Linked DNA regions of Homo sapiens: region 1 is linked to region 2. The links are contacts of gene promoters, found by promoter capture Hi-C in blood cells and fetal thymus (Javierre and others, 2016). All regions are on one chromosome and are shown on one strand. Each heading gives the region's core, a stretch centred on a gene start or on the middle of the fragment in contact. The rest is flanking DNA. Distances are from core to core; before and after follow the strand shown.

The links. The method cuts DNA at HindIII sites, captures the fragments that hold promoters and counts their contacts. A CHiCAGO score of 5 or more calls a contact.
Region 1: a fragment that was not itself captured here is called in contact with the fragment with the promoter of DENND5B-AS1 in region 2 in 1 of 17 cell types (total B cells); the score reaches 5.8 in total B cells.

What each region holds. Positions count from the first base shown.
Region 1 is chr12:31,983,516-31,986,528 of GRCh38, forward strand. RESF1 (retroelement silencing factor 1) reads left to right here. Exons shown (of 6, transcript NM_018169.4): 4 at 1-2,442. Among named protein-coding and RNA genes, the nearest start is that of RESF1, 26 kb to the left of the region's middle. The HindIII fragment of the contact is 152 bases long and covers 1,236-1,387 here.
Region 2 is chr12:31,588,623-31,591,437 of GRCh38, forward strand. It overlaps DENND5B-AS1 (DENND5B antisense RNA 1), which reads left to right and starts at 1,301. Exons shown (of 3, transcript NR_046909.1): 1 at 1,301-1,497. It overlaps DENND5B (DENN domain containing 5B), which reads right to left and starts at 2,514. Exons shown (of 21, transcript NM_144973.4): 1 at 2,084-2,514. The coding sequence starts at 2,210. RefSeq lists an enhancer at 1,035-1,114 and silencers at 1,545-1,884, 2,035-2,304, 2,375-2,664. The HindIII fragment of the contact is 7,998 bases long and covers 1-2,815 here.

The DNA of each region.
Region 1 (3,013 bases), core at 62-2,561, 390 kb after region 2:
TCAATCAAGGAAAGCATAACAAATTAGAGTCAGCTATCCATTCTCCTATGAACGATCAGCAAATCTCACAGGAGTCAAGGAATAGTACTGTTGTGAGTAGTGATACATTACAGATTGACAATATTTGTTCTCTGGTTGAAGGTGATACCTCTTACAATTCCCAAATAGCAAAGATATTCAGCTCTCTTCCCTTGAAAATGGTTGAGCCACAGAAACCTTCTCTACCCAATCAGCAAGGGATTGGCAGCAGAGAACCAGAAAAACAATTAGATAATACCACTGAAAATAAAGACTTTGGTTTTCAAAAAGATAAACCTGTACAGTGCACAGATGTTTCACATAAAATATGTGATCAGTCAAAGTCAGAGCCACCCTTAGAGTCATCTTTTAACAATCTTGAAACAAACAGAGTTATTCTAGAGAAAAGTAGTTTGGAGCATGCCACTGAAAAAAGCACAGCTAACGATACGTGCTCGTCAGCTGCTATTCAGGAGGATATTTACCCTCAGGAAATAGATGCATCCAGCAACTATACTCCCCAAGATCCTGCAAGAAATGAAATCCACAGTGATAAGGCACCTGTCTTATACCTACATGACCAGCTGTCAGAACTTCTAAAAGAGTTTCCTTATGGCATTGAGGCTGTGAATACACGTGAAGGTTCTGTGGGCCAGCAAACTACATACCAGACCTCAGAAGATCAAACTGCTGATAAAACCAGTTCTGACTCCAAAGACCCAGCAGATCAAATACAAATTACAATATTAAGCTCAGAGCAAATGAAAGAAATATTTCCTGAACAGGATGATCAACCCTATGTAGTAGACAAGTTGGCAGAACCTCAGAAAGAAGAGCCCATCACAGAAGTAGTTAGCCAGTGTGACCTGCAGGCACCTGCAGCTGGACAAAGTCGTGATTCTGTGATACTGGACTCTGAGAAAGATGATATCCACTGCTGTGCATTGGGCTGGCTCTCCATGGTTTACGAAGGAGTACCCCAGTGTCAGTGTAATTCCATCAAGAACTCATCTTCAGAGGAAGAGAAACAAAAAGAGCAGTGTTCTCCTTTGGATACCAACAGTTGTAAACAAGGAGAGAGAACTTCTGATAGAGATGTCACTGTTGTTCAATTTAAGAGCCTTGTAAATAATCCAAAGACTCCTCCAGATGGGAAAAGTCATTTTCCTGAACTACAAGACGACAGTAGAAAAGATACACCCAAAACAAAACATAAAAGCTTACCAAGGACAGAACAAGAATTAGTTGCTGGTCAGTTTTCATCTAAATGTGATAAACTAAATCCCTTGCAAAATCACAAAAGAAAAAAATTGAGGTTTCACGAGGTAACCTTTCACTCCAGTAATAAAATGACAGCATCTTATGAACAAGCTTCTCAGGAAACCCGACAGAAGAAACATGTAACACAGAACTCACGTCCACTAAAAACAAAAACAGCTTTTTTGCCAAATAAAGATGTGTATAAGAAGCATAGTTCTTTGGGACAGTCATTATCACCAGAAAAGATAAAATTGAAACTCAAATCAGTTAGCTTCAAACAAAAACGAAAGTTAGACCAAGGGAACGTATTAGATATGGAAGTAAAGAAAAAGAAACATGATAAACAAGAACAGAAAGGAAGTGTGGGAGCTACATTCAAATTAGGTGACTCTTTGTCAAACCCAAACGAAAGAGCCATTGTTAAAGAAAAGATGGTATCAAATACTAAGTCTGTAGACACGAAAGCGAGTTCATCTAAATTTAGTAGAATTCTAACTCCTAAGGAGTATTTACAAAGGCAGAAGCATAAAGAAGCTCTGAGTAATAAAGCATCGAAGAAAATCTGTGTGAAAAACGTGCCATGTGATTCTGAACATATGAGACCAAGTAAACTTGCCGTGCAGGTTGAAAGTTGTGGGAAATCAAATGAGAAACACAGCAGCGGCGTGCAGACCTCTAAAGAATCATTAAATGGCTTGACAAGCCATGGTAAAAACCTCAAAATCCACCATTCTCAGGAGTCTAAAACATACAACATTCTAAGGAATGTTAAAGAAAAAGTTGGTGGGAAGCAGCCTGATAAAATATGGATTGATAAGACTAAATTAGACAAATTAACCAATATAAGCAACGAAGCTCAATTCAGCCAAATGCCTCCCCAAGTAAAGGATCAAAAGAAATTATATCTGAATAGAGTTGGGTTTAAATGCACTGAACGTGAAAGCATTTCTCTCACCAAATTAGAAAGTTCACCCAGGAAGCTTCATAAAGATAAGAGACAGGAAAATAAACATAAGACCTTTTTACCGGTGAAAGGTAACACAGAAAAATCAAACATGCTGGAGTTTAAATTATGTCCAGATATCTTACTAAAGAATACAAACTCTGTGGAAGAACGGAAGGATGTAAAGCCTCATCCTAGGAAGGAGCAAGCCCCTCTGCAAGGTCCAGTATGATTTTCTTGGTGGTGTCTACAATATTGTAAAGAGTCGTAGGTCAATATTTGGGCTAGCACCTCTCATGCTGTCTTGGGCTGCTGGGAAAGACTTTAATGTGTTATGCCACTACCTAGTATTTGTTTTGCCTGGTAAACCAATGTTTCATTGGGCAATATTTGTTTTGTGTTCATTGCCACCTTATTGTAAATTGTAGAAAATTGGTCGTCATGACGAGCTATATGTAAAACTTGCCAGATAGAAATATTTCAGTTAGTACCAAGAAGGCTGTACTGTGAAAAACATTCCACATTCCTTGTGGGAATGTCAGAAAAGTGTCAAGTAGCTAGTAATGTAAGAGTCTTGGTTTTGTTAATTCTCCTTTGGACTTGTAATTTGAAAGCCCTGTGAACTTGAAATTTTGTTCTGAATGTTAGAGGATAAGTAATGATGAATACTGAAGTCTTTTTGTTCATATGGAAATGGGTCAACTAATTGTCCTCTTTGAAACAGTTGATGGCTGTGTTATCACTATATTTAAAATGGTAACATCTAGCCTACTCATAAGATAGAAGAACCTT
Region 2 (2,815 bases), core at 51-2,550:
ATATACAAATGCTACAACATTTTATTATAAGAGACTTCAGCATCCGAGGATTTTGGTGTGGGGGACACTCTAGAATCCATCCCCCATGGTTACGGAGAGATGATTGTATTTTCATTATCTCTTTACACTAGAACGTATGCTCCATGATGGCAGGGATTTCTGACTGCTTTCTTCACAGCTGTCCCCAGTGCCTAAAAAACCGACTACAGATAGATGCTTTCAAAACTGTTGGATGAATGATACTGAAATATTACAAGGCAAAATACATTATTACCTGAATACATTAAATATTATGAGAAGCAGAAATCCCAATCACCCACACTCACACAGTTTTGCAAAAAGAGACATCATAGTTTGTTTCTTAAAAATGCATTAAAGTCTAATTGATGGTTTTGTTAACATCATTCTCTCTGTGCCTAAAGAGTCCTAGGTCACACCTAAAAGGTACAGTTTTAGCTTCAGTAGGCAAACGGAAAAGAAAAATACAGGCTTTTTTCCTTTCATTAGTCATCACTGACAGAAGGCCTCCAAGTGACCCTGGTGCCACAAATGTTTAGGATCTTTAGGGAAGAAAGGAGTCTAGAAAAATAACAATATTCCTTCACCAATCTCGAGAAGAATCTCTCCAAATCTCTCTGCAGACATTTTTTCTTCATATCCTTTAACAAAGCCATTCTTAACATGTACATGAAATCTTAGTTGAAGAAACAATGTGATTACATAATTACACATACGGAAAAACTTGGTATTCTATTATCTCTCCAAATTTTTTTTTAACTAAAACTAGACTTACAGTTTTTGTTGAAAATGTTTTGTGTTTCTACCTCCGAAGAATATGAAAAAAAGAAAATGTTTTGCTCTGAAGCTGAGTTAAGAAGAAGATAGCCAAGACGTGGGTTGATGGGGACTGTATTTTAAGGCTGAACAGTTTTGTTTACTATTGTTTATTATTTAATATATTCTTCCCAGTCTCCCCACCCCCACCAAAGGAAAAGCGAAAAATTTACGTTAGTGCAATCAATAAGGAATTATTTGTCCAAAGGAAGTTGTTCTGAAAGGCTATGACCTAAGTCTTTAACACAAAGTTCAGGCGGTAGATGTCACTTCTCTCACCCATTTAACAACAACAACAAATCAAGATTCAGATCCCGCGGAGGCAAGCAGAAAGGAACAGGCGTGAAAAATGAAATCAGTTGTTTCTCCCCGGCCTCCTCTCGACACTGCGCACTCCGCTGCCCTGCCCCCGCCCATCGCCCTTTAGCGGCCCCTTTTAACGGCGTCGTTTGCCCAGCACAGCCCCGCACTGCGCCATCAAATGAGTCAAGCGGAAGGACCGGTACCCCTCCGGGAAAACCAGGCACTAACACACGGTGCACCCAACTGAATTTAAACTCGGGAACAGTGTAGGCAGTGTCAACAAAGCGCGGTGCTGGGTCCCGAGCGTCCAAAGGTCCCTGCCAGCTCCCAGACGCGGCCAAATCCACAGGATTCCAAAAGGTGACTTGGCCGGCACCGCAGAGCGGCAGGCGGCGCAGAGGGCAGAGTCCGACCGGTCCCCGCCCCGCGCTCGCTCCGCACGGCCACCGGCTCCTCCGCGGACGCTACCCCGGCGGGAGCCGAGCTGAGTCCGACTCCCCGTCTCCCGAAGAGGCCCGAAAGCCGCGTCACGTGCGGGGCCGAAACTTCGCGGCCGGGGCCGGGTGGCTGGCGGGTGGGAGGCAGGCACGGCGGTCGGGGGGCAGCCCGCGCGCCCGGTGACTCACCGGCCGCCTCCGAGTGCGGCTGCAAGCGAAGGGGCCGGCGCGCCAGGCGGGGTCCGTGCCCTTGGGGCCACCCCCGCGCCTGTTATTAATAACCCAGCGCCTGGAGGCGAAAGCCCCGGTGGGCGCAGCCGCAAAGCCCGCACGCGGAATAAATAACAATGTCATTAAATCGCGCCCGAGCGCCAGTTCGGCCAGAAAGCGGCGGGAGGGCGCCACCGGGAGCTGACTTTGTCTGGAGCCTGCACCCCGCCTCCCGCGCGTCCCCACAGCGTCCCCCGCGCCCCTGAGGGGGCTCAGCGCCGCCGCAGCCCTGGCCTTACCCGCCAGCTCGTCAGGCTCCAGCCCGCTGTCCGCGTCGATCCCGCACAGCACGAAGTAGTGCGCGAAGCGGCAGGCGGCCGGGGAGGAGCCCGAGCCCGGGCCGGGCGCCGCGCAGCTCCCGCTCATCCCGGCCGCGCTGCTCCAGGGGCCGCCGCCGCCGCCGCCCGGGAAGGCTTTCTGCGGAGGCTGCCACCACCGCTCCGGCTGTGGTCTGTGCGCCCGCCCTAGGGCGACACTGGCGCGCCCATGGCCGCGCAGCCGCCTCTCGCCGCCGCAGCCTGCCTCCTCGCTCGGCGCGGGGGAAGCGGCCGCGGGCTCGCGCGCGGCGGGTCCGGAGCCCGGCCGGGTGGGGGAGGGGCGCGGGGGGAGTGTCGGCCTGAGAGGCCCTCGCAGCCGCAGCTGCGCTCGCGAGCTGAGAGCCGCCGCGTCTGGCGCCCGCGGGTCAGCTGAGCGGCGCTCGGGCTGTGGGAGCGCGGGGCGGGCGGGGGCGCCGGGGCTCGGCGCGTGCGACGGAGAGGGGTGGGGGGCGCGCTCGCGAGGGACGGAGGCGCGCGCTTCTACCGTGCGCGCGCGCCTAGCGGGTTCGGAGGCCAAGCCTGGCGTGGGGCCGCATTCGTGCCCACTGGCCCCGGCTGCGGCATCGAGGGCGACCCTGCACACACCCCTCCTCGCCCTGGCCAGCCGATAAGAGGGCTAGCCTCAGTGTGGGGGTCTGTCTTCTAAAGGGGTTG